Regions from separate parts of the Homo sapiens genome. Here all the other regions are linked to region 1. Evidence: promoter capture Hi-C in human tissues and cell types (Jung and others, 2019). All regions are on one chromosome and are shown on one strand. The core of a region is centred on a gene start or on the middle of the fragment in contact, and the rest is flanking DNA. Distances in the headings are between cores, read along the strand shown. Region 1 holds the start of PRICKLE1 (prickle planar cell polarity protein 1). Region 2 has its middle 150 kb from the start of LINC02461. Region 3 has its middle 51 kb from the start of LINC02461. Region 4 has its middle 1.8 kb from the start of LINC02461.

Region 1 (2,700 bases), core at 113-2,612:
ATTTCCTTGCATTCTCTTTTCATCGGCTCCATTTTTGCTGAGTATTCCTTTGCTTTATTCCCAACGAAAATCGAAAAGACTTGATGTTCTGAGAAATTCTGAGACTGGCAGTTTTGATTTTTCTTAAAAGGATAAAAATTGCATCAGTCAACACCTCCCTCCACACTCCCCCCACACACATCCTCATCTTCCTGGAAGATGATACAGTATCCTAGAGCGTTGTGGAGAGGATGGAGAGGTCAAGGAAGCCCTGGCTTTGCAGAGGCACCTGTCAAGTTCGGGTTAACAGCTGCCGCCTGTGTCTGCCCTCTGCAGTCCAGGGAAATAGTACCCACACGGTGAGACTCCACCGATCCGGAACTGGAGAGGGTGGGGGGTTCTAAGGTTTAGTGTGACACAAATGTCAGGGCAGAACTTTCAAACAGGCTGAGCCCCAGTTCAACGTGGGTGAGTGCGCCTGAGAGCCCAGCTCTGGGAATTGAGCAGACTGAAAATGTGGAGAGTAGTTTGGCCAGTGAAAAATTGTCACCGTGTTCGGATCAATGCTTTGAACCCGCTTTTAAGTGCGCCACGTTCACTTGGGTCAGGCTCTGGACATTGCGGTGGGCTGAGGTTTTCGCGGGCACGATCCCCCACACTGAGTTTTCATGGAGACGACCAGGGCCGTCGAGGCGGGGAAGGGAACGGACTAGAGGCTGAACTTTGGCTTCTTGCTCTGAAAGATCACTCCTCCGGTTCCGGGGCAGAGACTCAGACCAGCCTGTGGGATTACACGAGACAGGATCGAGTCCAAACGGGTCCCCAGCTCGGCAAGGCGCGCCGGAAGGAATCTAAGTGTTTAATTAACTGCCCCCTTCACACACCCCCCGAAGGAGAAGGAACTCAAATAGGCACCCCTACCCAAATCGTTTGATCAGAGGAAATTGGGTTTGTCTCTCCCCCACCCCCCACCCCGTCCCTTCACTCTTCCTGTGTTTCAGTCCATCGGGATTGTTGGTTAAAAAAAAAAAAAAAAAAAGGCTTATAATCGGGGGCGGGGCAGAGGCTCCGAGCGAGCCGCACTTGCGACTCTGGACCGCGGTTGGTGAACTTTTTTCTCCCTGCGCATAATCCGCCTGCTGCTCTGCCCCACTGGCTGCGCGTGGAGCCGGTCCCAGGCCTGCTCGCAGCCCTGCCCCCGGGCGCGGCCCGAGCCGGGCCCGACCTCGCTTTCAGGGCCGAGCCGGGGTACGCGTGGGCGCGCGCCCAGCGGCCTCGATCCCGCGGCGGCGTCCGCGCTCCGCGTTTTCGCTCGCGCCGGGCCCCGCGGCCGAGGGCGGGGTGCGCGGCGGCGCCGCAGCGCGCGGCTCCGGAGCCCGAGCGCACTCCGCCTGCAGCCCAGCTGCCAGCGCCGTCTCCCGCGGCCGCCGCCGCCCGACAGCGCGCCCGGAACATGCCAGCCTCGCGCAGCCTGCGCTGACTTCCCCGAGACGCGCCGCGGTCGGCACGGAGACTTTCTGGGCTCTGGATGGTTCGTGCGCTGCTCACCCTCGCCCACCCCTGACGCCGCGGACCGCAGCTCCTCAGCCCCGCAGCCCCGCAGCCCAGCAGCCCCGCAGCGGCGCCGAGGACAGTGCAGCCGAGTTGCGTCTCCCTCGCGCGAGGTGAGTGGCAGCCTGGATCCCGGCGGATTCCGCAGAGGGGGCTGCGGCGCGGTGGTGGGGGGCGAGCGCCGCAGGGGTAGGGCCGGGCACCTTCGCTGGCACCGCCGGAGTCTGTGACACCCAGACTGGGTCGGTGTCGCAGAAGATCAGGGAGAAGGTCATAATCGGTTTGTTGGGCTGTGTAGACAGGGAAAGCAGATATTGGCTGCAGCATCGCCAGGGCTCCGCAGAGGCTCTCCGCATGGCTCCTGTTTGCTGCATCACAACCAACTCTTCCCTTGGTTTTCTCCGGCGTGGAAACAGGTTCTGTAGCCCGAGGGTCGAGGCGATGCGGGGCGCCGGGAGGCGAGGGTGCGTTGGCGTGTTCCCGCCGCTTAGGATCGCCTGTCACCTACTGGCGTCCGGAGGGAGGGTACCGATTCTCTCCTCTAGCGCTGGGGAAAGGGGCTGGTGGCTTTTTGGCAGAGGCGAATCAACTCCCACCACTCTCCCCAACCCCCTGCCCCGCGATGGTGTTTGCTGAATGTAGCACAGATATAGGGAAAAAATGGGAGCGTCTTCCTCTCTTGAGGTAGAAAAAGTTGAAGAAACTAGGCATGTTAATAGTTATTAGGAGCGGGACTCAGGATGCAGCAGAAAGCTGTTAAATTTTCATTACCCTCTAAGAAAAACAAACGGCATCGCCAGTGACTATTGGCAGTGCTGTGTTATTCTTGGGACTTTGGGAAAATTGTTCACAGATTGTCTTCAGGAGGCTGAAGAACGAGGTTGGGGGTTGGGAGAGAGGGAGGACGGCTGCATCACGCTTAGTTCCAGCTTGCCTAAGGAGGGTTCAGGATCACAAGCCGAACGCGTTTGGTTGCTGATTTTTAAAAGGGTATCAGCGGCAGAACTGAGACCATGAACAAGGCAAACACACCACGGGAACCAGCCTAAAGGAAAAAAAAAAAGCACCAACAACTACAACCAAAAAAACATGTAAAAATCTGCCTCTCCTGCAGAGTTAACATGCATTTGTGCTATCAAATGGATGCATGTATATGTGTCTTTTAGGATA
Region 2 (2,700 bases), core at 50-2,549, 710 kb before region 1:
AAGAAATCCTCCTTTACTGGGACAAAGATGCAAATCATTGTACTATTGACCAAAGATCAAAGGGACAAAAAACAAGAAAAAGAATTTGAAAGGGTCAAAAGGAACATCCAGAATACAGAAATATAAAAATTGGTTTTCAAATAATTAAGGGTTCTGCTTGCCTAGCTCAGAACGCAGAAGAAGGGTGTTTGCCTCTTCTAAAATGTGAAAATTTGAAAATACTTTTACAGGAACCAGAAGAGGTTCAGAGATCACCACTCAGCAATGTAGGCAGGCTGCATTTATAGACAGAAATCGCAAAGCAGGTACAGAATCAGCTTCATTGGTTACGGTTCTGCATTTGCCTTATTGGGGCATGATCTGATCACTTACCAGCCTATGATTGGCTGACACTCAGCTGCTGTCGTTGGCTGAGATAAAGAAGTTACCAAAAATATACTGTACTACTAAATTAGGCTTTTAGTTTGTCTACCTACTAACATAGGTTGTAGTTCATTAGAAAGGGGTTGAAGGTACAGAGGGCAACCTTAAGCCAAATTTAGTTTAATTTAATAATATGTTACAGAATTGAGATTTACTTAATATTAATCACAATTACCATTAATTAATTCTAAATGTCAGAAATTTTACATGAGTTTTTCTAATTCTGTTAACAACTCCTCAAAATTTGTATTATTTTTCCTGTTTTTATATAATAATTAAAATTAAGGCACATAGAAGTAAGTTAATTGCCCAATGTCAAACAGCTGAAAAATGGGAGATTTGGAGAGGAGATTATTTTTTGCTAGGCACTGCACTAAACACTTTACATTACTGAATTTAATTTTTACAACAGTCTTTTAATGAGAAGGAAATTTAAGAAGGAGTTAAATAAAAACAGAGGCAGGACTCATCCCAGGCTGCCTGACTCCAGAGTTTGTAATCTTACCAATATATAGTTTATTGTCTTCCTAAATGACTTCTGAATTTCCCACTTGAGAATGTTTAAGCTTAACATTGGTCGTATCCTGGTGTATTCGTCTGTTCTCACACTACCAATAAAGACATACCAGAGACTGGGTAATTTATAAAGAAAAATAGGTTTAATGGGCTCACAATTCCATGTGCCTTGGGAGTCCTCACAATCATGGGAGAAGGCAAAGGAGGAGCAAAGTCACATCTTACCTGGTGGCAGGCAAGAGAGAGAGCATGTGCAGGGAAACTCCCCTTTATAAAGCCATCAGATCTCATGAGACTTATTCACCATCACAAGAAAGCATGGGAAAGACCTGCCCTCATGATCCAGTTACCTCCCACCAGGTCCCTCCCACGACATGTGGGAATTATGGGAGCTACAATTCAAGATTTGGGTGGGGATACAGCCAAACCATATCAGTTGGTTTCTAATTGTTAACTCTCAAACAAGTCCATAGTGGTTATCCTTCAATCAAGATTGCAAGATTAGAACTAAAGAATGAGCACTTCATACTATGCCCTGAAGAATTTTAGCATCAAAACTGATGTGTGCCTGCCTCCAAGGGATTAGTATGTCAAGGCTTGATAGTCTTCAAGTCCTTCCCTTTTCCACAAAATACCTTTTGGATAGTCTGATACTTGGTTGCATGTGTAGTGGTTAATATCACAAGCATCGGATTGAGGTGACCTTTGGTACAATAGCTAACTAGCTTCAGAAATTCTTAGTTATGTGATTTTGGCCAGTTAGGCCATTTCTCAAGTCTGAAAGGAATTCTTACCACTGGAGAGGATGATATAGTTAAACCTGTTTCCCATTTGTCAGGTTCATGGTTTCCCAACACAGTAAATGTGAGAAAACATAGTGGCAAACTTATTGCAGGGGATTATTTCATGGTGGCATCAATAAAGGTCAAAAAATAAACCTAACTAGGAAAGTTATATCTCTTAAAAATCATCTAACGTATTTAGAAGTTTGTTTTAGACTTATACTTTTCTATGAACCCTCAAAATCTATAATAGAATAAACAATATGCTTTTATTATTAAGATACAAATTATTAGTATTTGTATCTCTAACAGTTTTCAGAAGACCTACTTAAATGATGATATACAAACAAATTCTAAACTGAGAGTAGATTGAAAGGCAACCTAAATAAAGTATTCAAAAATTTTTTTTATCAAAGAGAATTATCTTTTTCTGAGTTGCACATAAGGTTTTTTTTAAACTATTGTTGTTTTATGCATTTTTGAGGCAATCCAAACCAAAAGATAAATTGCAATTGAATTATTTTGCTCTGAATTTTATTTTATCCATTAGTTGAAAACCTTTATAAATGTTCTAGAAAGAAATATCATTGTGACCTTTTCTTCCAATCCTAGAAAAAATGATTTTTTAAATTAAGATGATTATATCTCAGCCCTAATAGTAAGTATTAGATTTTCAGGGGCTGATAAAATTGGAAACTTAATTTGGAGTCTCATGTTTAGCATAGCTTCTTCTCCTTCTCCTTCTCCTTCTTCTTCTTCTCTTTCTTCTCTCTCTCCTTTTTCTCCCTCTCCCTCTCTCTCTCCATCTCCCTCCCCCACCTCCTCCTCCTTCCCCTTCACTTTCTCTTTCTTTCTTCTTCTGCTTCTGAAACAGGGCCTCACTCTGTTGCCCAGGCTGTAGTGCAGTGGTACAATCTCAGCTCACTGCAGCCTTGACATCCTAGCTCAGGCAGTCCTCTCACCTCAGCCTCCCGAGTAG
Region 3 (2,700 bases), core at 160-2,659, 510 kb before region 1:
AGGGAACAGATGATACATCCTAAGGGTTACATGCTGGGGACCCCGTCTGAGAGCCATCCTTCAGAATTGCTGGTATCCACTGCTGTGGATGTTTAATGATTGGTTAGAGATATTTCACTGGTGTTTTTTGTAACATTTCTGGTTCTTTTTATCCTTTGTTTTTGTGTCTCCTGGCCTTGCCAAATTCAGCTGCTTTCATTCCAGAACAGGTGTGGGATGATGGCTTGGTCTCTCACGGCAGCACCCTTGAGGATCCTCACTGCCTGTGCCGCACCAGTAGTATCATTAGAGTCAGACAGAAAGGAAATGGAAAGAAGGAGATTTTACTCCTCTGTAGCTATTGTTGCTCTTGGCAGGGTGCTACCAGGAGGCCTAGATATGTACCACTTAAAGCTTAAATACTACAGCTCATTCTACCAGAGAGCCCTTTCAACACAAAAGCTGAAGTCAACTATGCTCCTTTATGAGGTGACTCATCTCAAATGATAAATACAGTGTGCCTCCCCCACACAAGAACAGATGTGGCAGATATGCCCCCTATAGAGAATGCTTTGCAAAAGCTTTGGGACTGCAGAGATTTTGTTCCGAAAATAATGCTTCGCATTTCTCCACCATTTTCCTCCAAAGTAGTCACAGCATTTGGGACGTTGGGGAGGGGAGGGCATATCATGCCAAGTAAGTGATGTGAGGCTCAGCTGAAGGAAAAGTGTCCACCCAGTGTTGAGCCAGCAAAGACTGCAAGGGGTTGTTAACACAATCTGGAAACTCCTCCCCTGGAGATCCTTAAGACCCATCCACCCAAGGTGGCTTCTCTCAAGCCTGCCAACAATCCACAGCATGCACTGGGTGATTTTTGAGGCTATTTTCCTCCATCAGATGAAAGGAGATGCGTGTAACATACCCACAAACAATACTTTTGCCCACTTGGTTCCATCAAATCTTACAAAATCTCTAGAATATGAGCAAAAGAAAAATTACATTCATTATCTTTTTCTGTCTACATTATTTATTTTTGTATTTATATTTAGACTGTTTCATAGAAAAGTAATGCTTATCTGACTGCCTAAGCTTAATTAAGCCTTTGCAACATGGTTTTTGAAAAACTGGCTTCTTCCCAAGATGCTCCACCTGCCACCTGGCGCAACTGCTTCCACTGGTTGATTTGCTGCCATAGTTAAAGACATGGTTAAATATTCCCAGGGACCCAGAAATCCCACATTGCAATGTGAAAACTACCATTCTCAGTAGGCATATTCCATTCTCAGAAATCAGTCCTTACCCAAGAACATGAGAATATTTAAGACAGGTTTTATGGAACAATGGAGAGTTCAGAACAATGAACTCTCACTTACAGTCCTATCGGAATTCTGTTCCAGGCATCTCCACTCCCGCACACGCACTGTGAGATGCACTGTGATGCTTTTCAAATAGCCAGGCCTTAACTAAAGTGGAAAAGGTGCTTTGTAAATTTCCATTTCAAAAGTTGCCTGAAGGTTTGTGTTGCATGGTAATGCTTCTATTTAGCGGTACATGCATAGTTTTAAATTTTCTAGAGAAGTGTGTTAAACTATTTTGGTTATGGCTTCAATAGATGTCAATTAATGTGTTTCATGTACAAAAACTAGAAAACTTTAAAGAATGAGATAAAGATGAAATAAACATATTTAATATTGTACTAATCATGGTGGCTTTATGCTTTAACTAATACATCCAAGAAAAATATGTTAGGACAAGGTTCATTGTTCACTAAGGTAGGCATAAATCTTGAATTTAAATGGCTTTTCTGACAATTTTTTTTTACTAACTTGTCAGATATTAGGCTGTCGTTTTCTTTACTTAACTGAGGAATAGCTCTTATTTGGAAAAGAGCTATCAGGGCAACCATTTTCTTACAGTATCCAAGTGCCTGTTCTATTAAGATTATCTTAAATTTAGGTTTACTTTGCAAAAATATTTTGAAGTCACTTGCCCATTTTGTGAAGACTAGTTTAGTAAAATCTGGATAATAAATAATTCTGTTCATTTAATCATGCATATATAAAACTATAATGCACAGCAATATCTCAAAAACAAAAATTCAAATGATTGCATCACATTTAAGCACACCATCCAGCTCCTGGTTTCTCACCACACACTTTTAGGATGTGGTGACTGACATGCATATGTGGTGAGGATGCCAATGTCATTCCACATGGCAAATTAGTAGTGTTTTACCATTAGGAAAGTGAAAAGACAAGCCACAGAAAGGGAGAAGATATTTTTTAATACATATACCAGCAAAACCTCCGTCTTAGTCCATTTTGTGTTGCTATAAATGAATAATATCTGGGGCTGGGTAATTTATAAAGAAAAGTGGTTTATTTGGCTCATGGTTCTGCAGTTTTTACAGGAAGCATAGCACCAGCATCTGCTAAGCTGCTGGTAAGAGCTTCAGGAAGCAAGAGAGATGGGGGCAGCGTCATGCTCTTTCTAACAACTAACTCTCACAGGAACTTAAAAGAAGGAGAACTCACTTCTGAGAGAGGGCATTAATCCATTCATGAGGGATCTGTTCCCGTGACTCAAAAACTTCCCACTATTTGTCACCTCCAACATTGTGGATCAAATTTCAACATGAGATTTGGAGGAGATAAACACGCAAACTATAGAAGACTGGTACAAATAATTCTTTCAGATCAATGAGGAGGGAGAACAACAACC
Region 4 (2,700 bases), core at 69-2,568, 560 kb before region 1:
ACCAATAACAATAGCAATTGTCATTGATACATTGTAAGATATTGAAAGAGAAAAGGAGAAGAATTTACAATTTACATGCTTTTATTACTCACAAAGTGCCTTCAGACTACAGGTAGATAGGTGGTAGGACATCTGGACTGTGAGTTAACTCTCAGGAGACAAGCAATTGCATTTACTATCCTGTTCTTTCCTCCAAGGCTCCTCCACCAGCAGTTGTTAAAGCCATACTCACCCTTCACCAAGGCACGGCAATGATTCCTTCCTAAAAGCCCCGATGTGTGACATTTTCCAGTATGAAACAACTGATTGAGTTGGAACAGATTAATTTCATTAGTTTATAAAACTAAAAGAAAAAATGTAATTGTTTTGCTTTAAAAGGTGTAGGCAAAATTAAAAAATAAAAAGAGAAGAGAAAAAAAAAAACAACAAAAAGGTGCAGGCAAATTTTATTCTTTTCCCCCACTACTCTTCCTTTCTTTCCTTTCTTTCTTTCTTTCTTTCCTTCCTTCCTTCTCTTTCTTTCTTTCTTCCTTTCTTTCTTTTTCTTTTCTTCTTTCTCTTTTTTTTGGCCAACAATTTATAATTATTTAGTTGTTAATAGATGGTAAAGAGACTTTTCCGAAACTTGAATAATACTGACATGAAAAAGACTACAGTCAGCTAAAACTCCAATAAGACATAAAAAAATTTAAAACCAGAAAATTTAAATTTTCGGTTTTCAGAGGGGAAAAAAGGCAAAACAAGGTTAAAAAATGAAGCCAATGGGCAGTAAAGAGAGGGAAACTTATAATGAAAATAAACCTAGGGTTGTTTATTTTGGCAGGAGTATTTGGGTCATTTTGAAATGCAACTATGACAAAGAATTTTTCCATATTTTAGGAATAAAGAAACAAAATGCTAAAAGCTATTGCTAACATGAAAAATGGCACAACGCCTCATGAACTTTTGTCTAATAGTTGATTAATATTGCAAGTCACATTAATTTTATTATTTGCTACATAGTGACGGCTATGTTGTCTGTACAGAGACCCAGACCAGAGGCCTAGGAATATTGTACTTGAAAATAAGAATATCTTGATTAGAAAATATTTGAGATGTAACTTAGTCACTGTCTTGGGCTTAAAAGAACTTTTATATCACAAATAATAATTATTTTGTATATCGAGTAGGGGTAAAAAGAATAACTGAATGGTGGCAGCAGGCTTTGAGGTAAGATTAGATTAGGGAGATAAGGGAAGCCCAGAAACATGTTCCTTAGGACAAGGATGAAAATCTCCCTCCTTTGAGGCCACATGCTACATAACTATCTGGGATGGTTTAGGGGACAGAATCAAAGACCCTAGCAGGACTTTCCATTGTGGAGCTATAGCCAACTGTTTAGAGGACTCAGTCATATTTGCCATTCTTCTTTAATTCTCCATTGTTTCGTGCTATTATTATTTCAGTGTTTTTCCTGCCTTGGATTTTTGTCTCATGTACTTACTTCTGGTCTTTCTTTGGCATTCACTGTTTTTCTTTTGTTCCCATCTTGTGTTAACTCTAGGTGGGGAGATGGAGGAGGACGAAGGGAGACAGAAACTACAGCCTGACATCAAGAAGTTTCTCCCTTGCTAAGTACAAAATCGGGAAGAGAAATGCTTAGACACGTTTCCCACAAGGTGGGACATTTCCAACTCACCAAAGCAGAAGCTAGATGTCGAATAAAGTATAATTTATTACTTATTAGGAAATAAGGTTAAAACTAGAATCAAAGACTCTAGCAGGACTTTCAGTTGTGGTGCTAGGGACATTAAGACTGAATATAATGCAGGACTTGGTGGCTCAGGCCCATAATCACAGCACTTTGGGAGGCCAAGGTGGGAGGATCACTTGAGTCCAGGAGCTCAAGACCGGCCTGGGCAACATAATGAGACCCTCATGTCTAAAAAATAGAAATTTAGGCTGGGCGTGGTGGCTCATGCTTATAATCCTAGCACTTTGGGAGGCCGAGGCGGGTGGGTCACCTGAGGTCAGGAGTTCAAGACCAGCCTGGCCAAAATGGCAAAACCCTTTCTTTATTAAAAATACAAAAAAATTGGCCAGGCGTGGTGGTGGGTGCATGTAATCCTAGCTACTCAGGAGGCTGAGGCAGGAGAATTGCTTGAACCTGGGAGGCGGAGGTTGCAATGAGCTGAGATCATGCCACTTCACTCCAGCCTGGGCAAAAGAGCAAAACTCCATCTCAAAAAAAAAAAAAAAAAAAAAAAGAAATTTAAAATTCAAAATTTAAAAATTAGCCAGGTGTGGTGGGGCAGCCCCATAGTCCCAGCTACTTGGGAGGCTGAGGTAGGAGGATTGCCTGAGCCCGGGAGATGGAGGCTGCAGTGAGCTATGGTCATGCCAGTGCATTCCAGCCTGGGCGACAGAATGAGACCCTGCCTCAAAAAAAAAAAAAAAAAGACTGAATATTAAAGTAATAGATCAACAGTAGAAGATTGTATTAGAACATGTTTCAATATAAAAAGATACTGAGGGTCTTCATTGCTTTGAGGTTTGAAAAAAACAACAGCTGAACATTGAAGTTTTCCAGTGACTGAAGTAACAAAAAGATGAACCTAAATTGTTGTGGAAAGAGATGTTAAACATGAAGCAGATTTCCAGCTTTCTAAGGGCTATAAAAGCCATTTTAGATGAAACGCAAAGCAGACCCCACCCCTTCAA

The links. The method cuts DNA at HindIII sites, captures the fragments that hold promoters and counts their contacts. A contact is called where the count stands out against the background at its distance.
Region 2: a fragment that was not itself captured here is called in contact with the fragment with the promoter of PRICKLE1 in region 1 in 2 of the 25 tissues and cell types used here (dorsolateral prefrontal cortex and mesenchymal stem cells).
Region 3: a fragment that was not itself captured here is called in contact with the fragment with the promoter of PRICKLE1 in region 1 in 2 of the 25 tissues and cell types used here (lymphoblastoid cells and mesenchymal stem cells).
Region 4: a contact is called between a fragment that was not itself captured here and the fragment with the promoter of PRICKLE1 in region 1, in 2 of the 25 tissues and cell types used here (dorsolateral prefrontal cortex and lymphoblastoid cells).

What each region holds. Positions count from the first base shown.
Region 1 is chr12:42,588,408-42,591,107 of GRCh38, reverse strand. It overlaps PRICKLE1 (prickle planar cell polarity protein 1), which reads left to right and starts at 1,362. Exons shown (of 8, transcript NM_153026.3): 1 at 1,362-1,643. RefSeq lists an enhancer at 82-639 and a silencer at 1,109-1,358. The HindIII fragment of the contact is 9,160 bases long and covers 1-2,700 here.
Region 2 is chr12:43,299,777-43,302,476 of GRCh38, reverse strand. No RefSeq gene overlaps it. Among named protein-coding and RNA genes, the nearest start is that of LINC02461, 150 kb to the right of the region's middle. The HindIII fragment of the contact is 3,606 bases long and covers 1-2,700 here.
Region 3 is chr12:43,102,498-43,105,197 of GRCh38, reverse strand. No RefSeq gene overlaps it. Among named protein-coding and RNA genes, the nearest start is that of LINC02461, 51 kb to the left of the region's middle. The HindIII fragment of the contact is 3,057 bases long and covers 1-2,700 here.
Region 4 is chr12:43,152,116-43,154,815 of GRCh38, reverse strand. No RefSeq gene overlaps it. Among named protein-coding and RNA genes, the nearest start is that of LINC02461, 1.8 kb to the left of the region's middle. The HindIII fragment of the contact is 3,731 bases long and covers 1-2,700 here.